Regions from separate parts of the Homo sapiens genome. Here region 2 is linked to region 1. The links are contacts of gene promoters, found by promoter capture Hi-C in human tissues and cell types (Jung and others, 2019). All regions are on one chromosome and are shown on one strand. Each heading gives the region's core, a stretch centred on a gene start or on the middle of the fragment in contact. The rest is flanking DNA. Distances are from core to core; before and after follow the strand shown. Region 1 holds the start of TRAPPC3L (trafficking protein particle complex subunit 3L). Region 2 overlaps KPNA5 (karyopherin subunit alpha 5).

Evidence for each region. The method cuts DNA at HindIII sites, captures the fragments that hold promoters and counts their contacts. A contact is called where the count stands out against the background at its distance.
Region 2: a contact is called between a fragment that was not itself captured here and the fragment with the promoter of TRAPPC3L in region 1, in 2 of the 25 tissues and cell types used here (bladder and small bowel).

What each region holds. Positions count from the first base shown.
Region 1 is chr6:116,542,387-116,549,630 of GRCh38, reverse strand. It overlaps TRAPPC3L (trafficking protein particle complex subunit 3L), which reads left to right and starts at 3,947. Exons shown (of 5, transcript NM_001139444.3): 1 at 3,947-4,158; 2 at 6,231-6,328. The coding sequence starts at 4,117. It also overlaps a transcript of CALHM4 not described here. The HindIII fragment of the contact is 13,462 bases long and covers 1-7,244 here.
Region 2 is chr6:116,683,897-116,691,140 of GRCh38, reverse strand. It overlaps KPNA5 (karyopherin subunit alpha 5), which reads right to left. Exons shown (of 14, transcript NM_001366306.2): 2 at 1,688-1,821. Among named protein-coding and RNA genes, the nearest start is that of KPNA5, 6.3 kb to the right of the region's middle. The HindIII fragment of the contact is 8,380 bases long and covers 1-7,117 here.

The DNA.
Region 1 (7,244 bases), core at 2,698-5,197:
ATAAAATATACAAAGAACAAACTTAGCAAGTTTTGTCTGAGAGTTTTATATATATAAATAATATATAATGTATTTACATTTCAAAACAGCTAGAAAAGAGGTCTTGAAATGTTCTCAACACATACAAATGATAAATACTCAAGATGATGGATACGCTAAATGCCCTAACTTGATCACTGTATATTCTATCCATGTACCTCATAATATCATGTATCAACACAAAAATTTAAAAAAGCAAAGCCTGAAGTGTATATAGTGACATGTTCAGTAAAGCTCAATAGTAAATGCCACATCTTTCCTTAGGCTTATACTTTTATTTTTATTTTTTACATATATGTACATTTTGAGACGGAGTCTCACTCTGTCACCCAGGATGGAGTGCAGTGGCACCATCTCAGCTACTGCAACCTCCACCTCCCAGGTTCAAGCGATTCTCTTGCCTCAGCCTCCCAAGCAGCTAGGATTACAGGTGCCCTCCACCACACCTGGCTAATTTTTTTGTATTTTTAGTAGAGATGGGGTTTTGCCATGTTGGCCAGGGTGGTCTCGAACTCCTGACCTCAGGTGATCCACCGACCTCGGTCTCCCAAAGTGTTGGGATTACAGACGTGAACCACCATGCCTGGCCTTCTTATGTTTAAAATTTTATATTTAAAAATGAACTTAATTAAAGTACAGATGGTCCCCACCTTACAATTGTGTGAAGGCAATACACATTCAGGAGAAACCCTACATCAAACATGCACACAACCATTCTGTTTTTTATTGTCAGTGCAGTATTCAATAAATTACATGAGATATTCAATACTTTATTATGAAATAGGCTTTCTGTTAGATGATTTTGCTCAACTGTAGGCTAATGTAAGTGTTCTGAGCATGTTAAGGTAGGCTAGCTTAAGCTATGCTGCTCGGTACATGAGGTATATTAAATGCACTCTGACTTCTGAATGGTTTGTCGGGATATAACCCTATCACAAGTTGAGGAGCATCTGTATAAGGGGAGTGAGGAAGTGGGGAAGGAAATTGTAGACCATTCTTTCAGGGAAGTATGTAGTAAAGGATGGAGCATAGATTGATTAGAAAACATTATTGGATTGTAAAATTCTTGCTGTAAAGGAGTTTGTAGATGATAAATTCCCAAGTTTTACTATTGCTTACTGTTGAAAGAACTAATCACTTCATCTGCAGTGCCAATGTGTAACTTGCTAATGACTGTGAATGATTACATTTATGAGTAATCAATTTTCTTAGTTCTTTTGTGATGCTATAATACTTCAGACTAGTATAAACACCAGAAATTTATTTTTTACAGTTCTGGAGGTTGGGAAGTACAAGATCAAGGTGCTGGCATTGTTTTTTGGCAAGGGCTCTTCTCTGCTTCCAAGATGGCACCTTGTTGCTATATCCTCACATAGCAGAAGAGCAACAAAAGTCTAAGCTATTTCCTTCCAGCCCTTTTATAAGGTGCTAATTCATTCATAAGGGCAGAGCCTTCATGACCTAATCGCTTCCCCAAAGGCCCCAACTCTTAAAACTACCACAATGGGCATTAAGTTTAAACACATAAATTTTAGGGACATTCAGACCTTTGCCTTCTCTGATAGTTTGCGGGTGATCATACAACCGACAGATCAGCGGATGTCATCCTCTATTAGCACCTTCCCAAGTGTCTACTCTGCTGCCCATGTATTCCCAAAGGACCAGCATAGGGGCATAGCTCAATTCACCATTTACTTGGGTTGGTTGACTGCAGTGCAGTTTTACCAGACTGAAGAATGTGTCTTTCTCCTAACCCCAGTTCCAGATTTAGTCCTAACAAGACTAAAGAACTCTTAGTAAAACAGGAAAAACTTTGCTTATGCATTATCTTGGAATAATTCTTTCCTAGTTGGCTGCCAGGGCAGACATTATAGATCATGTACCCGCTTGAAACATCATCTCTGTGCTTTCTTCTATTTAAGGGAGGAGTACATTTACATTAAAAAAGGAGTCTGGGGAACACAGGGCTCACTTGCATCCTAAGAGCTGCTGAAGACTAGCAGGTTTCATAGACTGAAAACCAGCAAACCAGTGTCCCCTGTGATGATGAGTACAGCTGTGGTCGTGAAGGTTGTGCTTTGTACAGTAGCACCTGGCAGGGGCTCTGCTCCTTCCTTAAGCTCGTGTCTTGACTGGAAGGTCAATGGAGCAGAGGGGAGCCATGTCAGTCTGAAGTAAAAGCCGGCTTTTTCTAATACATCCAATGACATCCCGAATTCTCCCGATGGCCATAATGTGACCATACCACAGCCATTAGAGTTTGGTGAAATTGATTCCAGTACCGCCATCACCTCGCAGCAAGCACACAGGCCCTTTGTAGGTTATTCTCTGGGGTATCTTACTCAGAACTAGGATTGCCCACAAATTGACCCAGCAACATGCTGTCCCTGCACCTTAGTAAGCTTTTTGAGTCTGCCTCTAAAATAGTTTGCTCTAACATAATTAGAGTGTGTGCGGTACAAAATAAATTTGACTTGGAATCATCAAAATTAGCCCAAATCCCTTCTTGTTGCCAACATCCAGATAACCTTGAATACATTTCTCAACCTCTCTACTTTTAGATTCTTATCCTGTAAAATGGCCATGATTACAGTACTATTTCACAGATTGTATCTGAATTAAAATGAGATGAAGAGAACGAAAACCATGTTGTAAACTGTAAATTTGATATACATATAAGTCGTTATTATTTGCTACTGAAAAACTCTCCACCCCATACCCCACAACTAAGTGAAATTAATTTTCCTGAGATCATAGTGTCATAGAACATATGCAGTGATGGAAATGCCTTAGGTATTGTAGAATTCCATTCAATTTATCCAACCACAAGAATAACCTATAGTAACTAGTTATTATATGGTGCATTTTAATGTGTTTTACGGTACGCCTCGTCTCTTTGGTTCTCACAATTATTCTGTGAGGTGAGTGATATTGTTGCCATTTTGCAAATGTGGAAACTGAGTCATAGAGCAATAAAATGGCTTGCCCAATGCCACACAGCCAGTAAATGGTAGGGCTGCAACAGCCTGAGCCTTCCAAATCCTCCTAGGTTCTTTCAACTACACCACACTTTTCGTCAAAGTATTCTTGAGTTTGTCACTTTATAGCAAGAATTTTCCAGAACAAATAGGACTAATGGACTCAAACTATAAGTAGAAGAAAATTACTTTCCTAAACTGAGTTTTCCGCTTCCATTTCTGGAAAGATTTTGATCCTACTCTGCACCCTGCAGTTGTCAAGGTGAAAGGATTTTTTTATTTGAACTTTAAGTATTTCTGCGTAAATAAAGAGAGCCTTCAATAGCTTACGTCTCAGGAGCTCTCAAAAGAAAGCTAAGGGCTTACTTTCTCTATCAGAATCATTATACATTATGATACTGTAGAGCGCCCATTTTGAACAACAGTTTTGTAAGAAAATATTGCCCATTCTATCACTCCTTAATGTTGTTGATTGCTGCTAATGAAAAGCAAAAAAGTTACCAGATATATTTGAATACTGTAATCACACAAGATAGGGATCTATGGTTTTGGGGACAGTGTGATAACCATTGGTGTAGTTGAGGGATCACGTTTTAACTCAGGATTTATTACCTACAGATTGCTGATCTTGTCTCTCTAATTCTTACAACAATCAATCCAAGACTGAATAATGCTAACATTTAGATCTATCTTGGATTGCGAAGGTTTCTGTTTCTGATTTTAAAACAATGTCTTGGCCTGAGAACAAAACACCACTCTTGAACTCCCTCGGGCTAAAGAATTTTTTGAGTTGCAGTGCTTCAGGTCTGACTTCACATTATCAGCTTTTATGGCTCTAGATTACAATTCATCCTTACAAATGAAGCAGTTATTTGATCCATGGCAAGTTACGTGGCTATAAGACAATCCTGTTGTTCATGGTTTTTTTCCCTCTTCAGCTCAGCAAAGAGCAAAAGCAGCAGAGTGCAGAAGCAGCACTCCTGTCTCAAAGCGAGGAAGAGCTTACAAAAACAAAACAAAAAGACATGGACTGATACACCTCTAAGAAACAGGCAAAAGAAGAGAAATTGAAGATCATATTCTTCATCTATCAAGCACTATGTCTCGCCCTGCACACCGAAGACCAGAATACCATAAAATAGTAAGATCTTTCTACAAAGAGATTTTTTCTACTTCAGAGAAAATGTTTTCTTGAGTGATTTCTGATTGATTTTAAAAACTGATGCTATAAGAATTTTTAGTGGAGGAAAGACAGTGTTCAGCGAAGTGAATCATAAATGACACATCTAGGAATAATTATGATTATCTCCTACATAAAGAATAATCAATTCTTTATACACACTTTAAGGTCTTCTTTTCTGACTAATTATATCAATATGAGTGTCAATTTTTTCACCTCTGACAGAAAATATGAAAATATTAGCAATTTTTTCTATTTCATACTTCAGGAAATGGGAACTTACATATATATGTATATGTATATATATGTATGTATGTATATATATATGTGTGTATATATATAGTTGATTATGTGTAAAACTGAATCGAAATAGGTCATCAAAAAAGGATTGCCTTTAAAAATGTTTCCTAGTCTTATTGTAGCTTGGTATGTAATATCATCCTTTCTATATATTCCAGGTTAAGAGTTATTTATAAACCTTATTTTTTTGCAGATTAGTTTTAAATAATATTCTTTAATACTCTCTTATAGTTTTAGTCACTCAGATACTACAGATACAAAAACTCACTGTTAACTTTAAAATTCTGTTAATTATGTCAGGAGACTGATGGGCATTTGATATAATTAAGTAATTTCAGACTTGGTGTTTAGAATTGTAGTGACTAACTAGCATACTTCAGTTTGAAATGCCTGCAGATACCTCCTCTGGCCTTCTGGGATCTTGATTTATTTTCCTGTGGGACTCTCAAGTGCTAAAAATATATGGTACATAGTTCATATTATACCGAAATCACTTGATTTTATAAAGCAGTTAAAATGTATTTTTATCCTGATACATTCATAACCTACTGAAATAGTTAATGATGTTCTTTCAGATATTCATATGATTATTTTTATTGTTTTAAAAACGATAAAGATAAACTTATGTTGACCTTTCCTGGCATCTGTGGTATGGATTTGAGACCCAATTGAACAGATAGTTCAAGGTACAGTCCTTGGCCATGAAGCAGAATAGAGAAAGCTGGCCTTTATGGGTACTGAACCAGAAACTCAGCTGGAAATAAAATAGATTTCAATATATAATAGTGCCCACCCATCAGGGACAGAGAAGAAATTCCACTATTTCAGTTTGGCCTTAATTATAAAGGGACACAATGTTGGGGCCATGGCATGTAGGTAGGGTATGATTTTTTCTACTTTTCTCTTTTTCAAATTCTTTTGTTTTACTGCTAGTCACAACAATCTCATCATTCTCTCTCTCTCTCTCTCTCTCTCTCTCTCTTCTTCACCTTTGCTTATCTTTATGCTGTAGCATTAGTACATGGCAGCACTTTGTCTTCTGCTGTGGCTCTTATATGTTGAGCAGACTTTTCATTGATAATTTACCAGCATTTCTTGTGATTTATTATTAGGTTCTTGGAAAAACCCTAAGCCAAACCTAAATTGTCTTAAGTTTTAGTTTTCATTTATAATTTACTCTAAAAATGGGACATATTTTGGAGAACTATAAGGAAATATCACATTCCCCTTTTTTCTCTAAGTAAAAAGAAAAGAAACTCACAAATTTGCTGCTACATTTGGGTTTATCCTGAAGGTCTCCTTGGCAGATCTGGGGGCCATTAGGGATTGTGCAGACGCCTGAGAAGTCTTATCCAATTCTTGCTTCCAACTGAAAACATGGATGGCATATATTTTAGAAAAACAGAAATTTATGTTAGAAATTAGTATTTTTAAAAAACTGTCCTCCATGAAAATACATTGCAAGTTATCATGTAAGCAAATGCATAGAAAGATGTTATCATGTTACGAAATTCATTTTATTTAACAGCTCTCTCTCCCCCACCTCACATCAATGTATCCAAATGTGAATATAATTTGTTTTCAAAAGTGCAAATTGTTGCAATAATAGGAGGAAGGAAAAAATGTACAGGTGACTTCTAAGGCTACTTCAAACCAGATTTTATAAACAAAAGAAATACAGTAGTATACTGTCATAACTTGCCTATAACCAGAAACTACCCCTTTTTCTCCAGAATAAAGATCTCTTTGTCCTTACCTATGGAGCTCTGGTTGCCCAGCTGTGTAAGGATTATGAGAAGGATGAAGATGTGAACCAATATTTAGATAAAATGTAAGTGGAAGTCCTTCATTCTTATTGAATGGCTGTTGTTTCTTACATCACCTGCATTCTTTCTGCCTCTAATGACTTCCTTTGCTTCATTTCACCAGCTGTTCTTCTGTCTCAATTAATCACATCTGAAAGCTGAACATAATTTCTTACAAGTGCCATTTGGGTTGATAGAATAAGATAATAGGAAGGATTTTTTTCCTACAAATATCAAGTGTGGGATGTTTTCTCTTTAGTTAGAAATCATTTCTTAAGTGACTTAAGAGTCGCTTATAAGCAAAAGATGTGGTAAAATTGAAATTATTCTATTAACAACATGAGGGAACATCAAATTTTATTCTTTTCAGAAGTCTTTTGTTCTAACACAACTGCTTCCAATATAAATATATGCTTACACAACCACAGACCATCTATTGAAAGATATACAAGAAACTCACAATGGTAGTTTCCTAAGGGGAAGATGGAGAAAATAGGAATTGTGAATTAAAGGGAGAGTTTATTTTAAGATAGCATTTTTATTGTTTGAATGTTTTTTAATCATTACTATGCTTTTCTTAAAAAACATATTAGGTAGAAAAACTCACTTCTTCCTTTTTAAATGAGACCCATTCTCTTTGTCTTTATTGTTGGAGATTCCTCCTGCACAAATTCCACCTTTTGATTTTCTCTGAGTAACTATGTGATCATCAGATGATTGCCAAACAATAAAACATCTGTCAATGGTTTTTGAGCTTTTTAATTATAAACTCTGAAGAGGACTCTAACAGAGGAAAGACTGGAAAATGTGTACTGGTTAGAAGATTTATCTAGGCAGATTGAAGGGGAAATTTAGCCTAACATTTTAGAGCTTTTTAAAAGGGTTCATTGTATTTTCAGTTGAAATACAGAAAAAGACAACATAAAGATTGAAAGTCTTTTT
Region 2 (7,244 bases), core at 1,678-4,177, 140 kb before region 1:
CCTCCTGCCTAAACCTCCTGAGTAGCTGGGATTATAGGCGTGCGCCACCATGCTCGGCTAATTTTTTTATTTTTAGTAGAGACGGGGTTTCACCATGTTGGTCAGGCTGGTCTCAAACTCCTGACCTCAGGTGACCCGCCCACCTAGGCCTCCCAAAGTGCTGGGATTATAGGCATAAGCCACTGAGCCCGACAATAATACATATTTTAAAACAACACAGTATAACAACTCAACTACACAGCATTTACACTGTATTAGATATTATAAGTAATCTGGAGATGACTCAAAATATACAAGAGGATGTGTGCAGGTAATATGCAAATACCATGCCATTTTACATAAAGGACCTGAGCATCAGTGAATTTTGATATCTGCAGAGGATCCTGGAACCAAGGGATAACTCTACATTTCCTAAATCAAAATTTGAGGAAAACAAAATCTGCTTATATTCTTTTTGACATCTAAATAAATATCGTTCTTCTTTTTTTTTTTTTTTTTGAGATGGAGTCTTACTCTGTCGCCCAGGCTGGAGTGCAGTGGCATCAACTCGGCTCACTGCAAACTCTGCCTCCCGAATTCACGCCATTCTCCTGCCTCAGCCTCCTGAGTAGCTGGGACAACAGGCGCCAGCCACCACGCATGTCTAATTTTTTTGAGATGGGGTTTCACCTTGTTAGCCAGGATGGTCTCAATCTCCTGACCTCGTGATCCGCCCGCCTCAGCCTCCCAAAGTGCTGGGATTAAAGGGGTGAGCCAGGGCTCCCAGCCTGTTCTTCTTTAATATGTAAACAATCTTCCTTCTAATCATTTATTCAACACAATTTTTTTAGTACCTACTATAATGTATGAAGGATTGTGTTAGACGCTGTAGATAGGGAGATGAGAAATCATTATCATATTTCTGAAATAGGCCTTGCCTATTACATGCCTGTAATCCTAGCACTTTGAGAGACAGAGGCAGGAATATTGCTTGAGGCGAGGAGTTCAATACCAGCCTGGGCAACATAGCAGGACCCCATCTCTACTTACAGAATACAATAGAATAGAATACAATAGAAGAGAATAGGCCTTTTCTACTTTCTTCACTGCTAGTCCTTTTCATACATCAGTTTTAATTCACATGTGTGAGAACCACATTATTTTACTTACTTACAAATACTTCTACATTTAAGTACATCTTGGAATAAAAAATGTTGAGATGTACTCTCTTAAACAATTTTATATTCTTTATGTCACATATGAAAAGTATAAACAGAGATCCAGCTAATAAGACAATGGGGGAACAGTATGAATAGCATGGGAAGATGACAATAATTTACTTACGGGCAAGAATTATGAAAACTACAAAGCAGCAAATAATATATAATTAATGTTTCTTTAAGGGGCAAATTTTACAATGACAAATGGAAGTGATCTAAATAGATGCAAGAGGAAAAATTTCCTAGCAGTAGGGTAAAAATATAATTAACACAACAGGTTTATCAATAAAACAGAAAATCCATTTCTCCCAGTGACTAAAGTAGCACAGAGTTCTGTTTCACAAATTTGCAATTATGATGCCTGGAGTCTAATAAATAATAGATTTAGCTATATTCAATTTCTTAAAACATTTCCATTTAAAATTATCCAATAATTAGCAAATAATTAAAATTTTAAAAAACAAAATTAAATAGCTAAAAACACCTACCTGTTCTTCTCTTTTTTGTTTTCTAAGCTGTATTCCTTCTTCTTCTCTTCGTCTACGCATCTCTTGAGGATTTAGGGCTTTATTCTTATAACTTTTCATTCTATAGTTATCTTTCCCTGGACTAGCCATGGCATCTTAAAGGAAGGAGAAAAGAAAACAGACACTGATAACTCACTCTCTCAAAACAACATGAGACACTTAATCTAGCAACTAAATTCAGGCTCACTGATTAACAGGTCAACAAAACCCATTCTGAAAATTATGTACAAAGAATACATTCCCTTAATTCCACATCAAGATTAGAGCAAAATGACCACATATTTTAGAAATAATATCTTAAACAAATAATTTTGGTCTAAACAAAGACAAAGTTTACCCTATCTTATTGATTCTAAGATGCAACAACCTTTCCTGTCTCCCTAGCCCCCACAGTGTTTTAACCTTTCTGAAACATAATTACTGTCAGGAAATAATCATGAATTATTTGGGTTAAAAAAAAAGTCTTCTAAATTACAGTTTCTGGCTAGATCAAGAAATAACCAGCTTTGAAGTATCTTATTTTTAATGAAATATGATATTAGGCTCCAGTAAGCACATCTCAAATATTTATTGGGGTCTGGCTTCTTTCACTTACTGAAGGCATTGCCTTAAGAGCTATGGCCACAAGGGTCAGGACTTGAATTATGACTACAATATCAGTTTTTAGTACTCCAGTATAATTAGTTCTTTTGAAATACTAAAATACATGTATACTTTATTTTTAAGTAGTTTTATTGCAAATGTATTTTAAAACATTAACATTTATATACCTATTTTATAAATACATAAAATATATGCAAATATATTTCATATTTGAATATATGTGCTAGTTTTACTTTTAGAAAGTGAATTATAAACTTTAACAATGTAACAGTATTGATATCTTGATATTATCTTATAGGAATATTAAAATACTGATATTATAACCTATTCTGGACTTACACATCACACACACACAAAATCTGCCTAAAGCAGGGTGCCAACTTCAGTTTAACAGTAGATAGTGAGTACCCAGTATGTTATTCTGTTAAATTCAGAGGACATATCCATGTCCAACCAGAGACAATGTTGTGACCAATTAGCTTATGAAGTAAACACAAGAGAAGGAGAGGCTGGCATCTGTCTGCCATCCCTGATATTGAAGAGACAGACTAATGAATTGGCAAATTTTATTGTAAGGAGTACACTAAAATACATGCTTTAAATCTTGAGAGAGCAGTGAAGATATGGCAACTAATTGTGCCTTAGGGACTTCTGAAAGCTTCATGGGTATCCTATTTTAAAGGAAAAACAGGAAAGAGAAATGGGGAGAATCAAGCATTTCAAGCAGAAGGAATATATGCAAAGGCAAAGTTTTTGAAGAAGCCTTGCATAACCAAGAACAGTAAGAGACTAAGTGTGTCCAAAATGAGGATGCATGGCAGAACATAAAGCTATAAAGGTAGGTTAGAGGACATATGGTTCCTATAATGCAGCTGTGAAATTTGGACTTGATCCTAAGGAATAGAATTAAACAAATTAAGGAAAAGGTTGTTTTTACATAGTTCAGAGAGAGAGATAGGAAAGATGCTGAAGGCGTGAACTAAACAAGTTACTACAATGAAAACATAGAAGACAAGTTGGATTCTAGAAATATTTCTGAAATTGATTCAGTAAAAATTAGAGGCCAAATGAATGTAACAGATATCTGGTGAGGAAGAAAAGGGAGTTGAGGATGACTCCATGGTTTTTAACTGAGCCATCTGAGTAGTATGGCAAGATAACATAAGACAGAGAATACGGATGGAGGATCAGAGTAGTGGTTGTTGTGTTTACATATCGGCTTGTTTCTGAGACAAGAATAATGAATTCCGTTATTTTAGGTTTATTTTTAAATTTATATTTAGTAAAAATCACTCTTTTCGTATACATTTCTATGAATTTAACAAATATACATGCATGTAACTATCACAATCAAGACACAGAACAGTTGTCACCCCCTAAAACTCCCTCAAGCTGCTCCTATTAGCCCTCCCTGACCCTTAACATCTGGTAAAAAGTTAATTCTCCATCCCTATAGTTCTGCCTTTTCCTGAATTTCAGAAAAGTGGATTCATACAGCATGTAGTCTTTTAAATCTGACTTCCCAGAAAAAGTATAAAATACCTCAAAATATAGCCAGCCAAGGAGGTGAAAGACCTCTAGAGTGAGAATTACAAAACGCTGCTAAAAGAAATCAGAGATGACACAAACGAATGGAAAAACATTCCATGCTTGTGGATAGGAAGAATCAATATCGTGAAAATGGACATACTGGCCAAAGCAATTTACAGATTCAACACTATTCCTATCAAATTGCCAATGACATTCTTCACAGAACTAGAAAAAACTATTTTCAAATTCATATGGAACCAAAAAAGAGACTGAATAGCCAAGGCAAACCTAAGCAAAAAGAACAAAGTTGGAGGCATCATATTACCTGACTTCAATCTGTACTACAGGGCTACAGTAACCAAAACAGCAGGGTACTGGTACAAAAACAGACACATAGACCAATGAAACAAAATAGCCCATAAATAAGGCCACACACCTACAACCATCTGATCTTTGACAAAACTGACAAAAGGAAGCAATTGGGAAAGGACTCCCTATTCAATAAATGGTGCTGGGATAACAGGCTAGCTACATGCAGAAGATTGAAACTGGACCCCTTCCATATACAAAATAACTCGAGATGGATTAAAGACTTAAATGTAAAACCCAAAACTATAAAAACTCTGGAAGACAACCTAGGCAATATCATTCTGGCCACAGGAATAGTCAGAGATTTCATCACGAAGGGGCTATTGCAACAAAAGCAAAAATTGACAAATGGGATCTAATTAAACTTAAGAGCTCCTGCACAGCAAAAGAATCTGTCAACAGAGTAAAAGACAACCTACAGAATGGGAGAAAATTGTTGCAAACTATGCATCTGATAAAGGTCTAATATCCAGCATCTATAAGAAACTTAAACAAATTTACAAGAAAAATACAAACAACCCCATTAAAAAGTGAGCAAAGGACATGAACAGACACTTTTCAAAGGACATACATGCAGCCAAGAAGCATATGAAAAAAAGGTTAACATCACTGATCATTAGAGAAATGCAAATCAAAACCAGAATAAAATACCATCTCACACCAGTCAGAATGGCTATTATTAAAAGGTCAAAATGAGCCAGGTATGGTGGCTCACACCTGTAATCCCAGCACTTCGGGAGGCAGAGGCGGGAGGCAGAGCCAGGAGGATTGCTTGAGCTCAGGAGTTCAAGACCAGCCTGGGCCACACAATGAGACCCTGTCTCAACAAAATATCAAAACATTACCCAGGCATGGTGGCACGTGACTATAGTCTCAGCTACTCAGAAGGCTGAGGTGGAAGAATCACTTAAGCCCAAAGGTCAAGGCTACATTGGCCATGACCACACCACTGCACTCCAGCCCGGGCAACAGTGAGACCATGTCTCAAAAAGGAAAAGAAAAAAAGTCAAAAAACAAATGTAAATTAGTTCAATCACTGTGGAAAGCAGTGTGGCAATTCCTCAAAGAGCTAAAAATAGAACTACCATTTGGCCCAGCAATTCCATTACTGGGTGTATATCCAGAGGGATATAAATCATTCTACCATAAAAACATGTGCACACAAATGTTCAGTGCAGCAGTTTTTACAATAGGAAAGACATGGAATCAACCTAAATGCCCATCAGTAACAGACTGGATAAAGAAAATGTGGTACATAAACACCATGAAATACTATGCAGCCACAAAAAAGAATGTGATCATGTCTTCTGTGGGAACATGAATGGAGCTAGAGGACATTATCCTTAGCAAACTAATGCAGGAAAAGAAAAACAAATACCACATGTTCTTACTTATAAGTGGGAGCTAAATGAGGAGAACACATGGACACAAAGAAGGGAACAACAGACACTGGGGGCCTACCGGAGGGTGGAGGGTAGGAGGAGGGAGAGATGCAGAAAAAATAACTATTGGGTACTAGGCTTAGTACCTGGGTGACAAAATAATCTGTACAACACCCATGACACGAGTTTACCTATACAACAAGCTTGCACATGTGCCCCTGAGCCTAAAGGTAAAATAAACAACAACAACAAAACCAACAAAATAAATCCGGCTTCTTTCATTTAGCACGGTATTTGAGTCGTCCACATTGTTGGCATCTATCAACTCTCCTTTCTTATTGCTGTTATTCCACTGTAGGGACAGATCACGGTTTATCAGTTTTCCAGTTAAAGAACATCTGGGTGGTTTCTAGTTTTTGGAGGTTATGAATAAATGTGCTACAGACATTTATGTAAAGGTGTTTGTGTAAACATAAGTTTTCATTTCACTCAGTAAATATCTAGGAGTAGAACTGACGGATAATACGGCAAGTTTATGTTTCACTTTATAAGAAACTGCCAAACTTCTTTCCAAAGTGAGTATTCCATCTTGCATTCCCATCAGTAATGTATGAGAGTTCCAGTTGCTTTGCATCCTGTCTCCATTTGATGATTTAAGGGGTTTTGTCGTTGCTGTTGCTAGTCATAGCCATTCTAATAAGTGTATAGTGACTCTGGTTTTAAACATGGTAAATGTGTAGTACTTGGTGCACATGTAGGAGGCTTTGATCTGTAGATGGTTGAAAATACGGATCAGAACTCAGGACAGGGATCTGGAGTGATCATTTGCTATCATGTAGAGCTACAGAAGAAGGATGACCAAAGGAGAAATCTTGGGGACCATCATATTTTAGCAGAAAAAGGCAAGAGCAAAAGAAACCAAAAAGAAGTAGGTCAGAGAAGTAGAAGAATAAGGAAGAAATTAAGAGTCCTGCAAAGGAAAGGAGTTCAAAAGATAAAGGAATATTTAAGTTGTAGTACCACTGAAAACAGGCCACTCGGTTTATTCATTCATTGATTCATCCAGAAAATAAAAGTGCCTGTAATAATCCAAGTACCATATCAGGCATCAGATTTGGTAATTATGTCACTGGTAAAGATAGTGAGACAAATCTCACTACTGGTGGAGCTCAAGGTAGAAGGGAAGGGGCTGAGGACTTGAGAATGATTGAAAAGAAATGCATGATTAATTTACCAAAATTCCTCCTTTAAAATATTTAATAGATTCAGCAATACTATGTGCACCTACAAATAGATATCATTAGAAACTGCTCAATATGGCCGGGCGGGGTAGCTCACACCTGTAAACCTAGCACTTTAGAAGGCCAAGGAGAGTCGATCGCTTGAGGTCAGGAGTTCAAGACCGGCCTGGCCAATATAGTGAAACCCTGTCTCTACTGAAAATACAAAAATCAGCTGGGCATGCTGGTAGAAGCCTGTAATCCCAGCTACTCTGGAGGCTGAGGCAGGAGAATTGCTTGAACTCGGGAGGCAGAGGTTGCAGTGAGCCAAGATCGCTCCAGCCTGGACTCCAGCCTGGGAGACAGAGCAAGACTCTGTCAAAAAAAAAAAAAAAAAAAAAAAAAAAAAAAAAA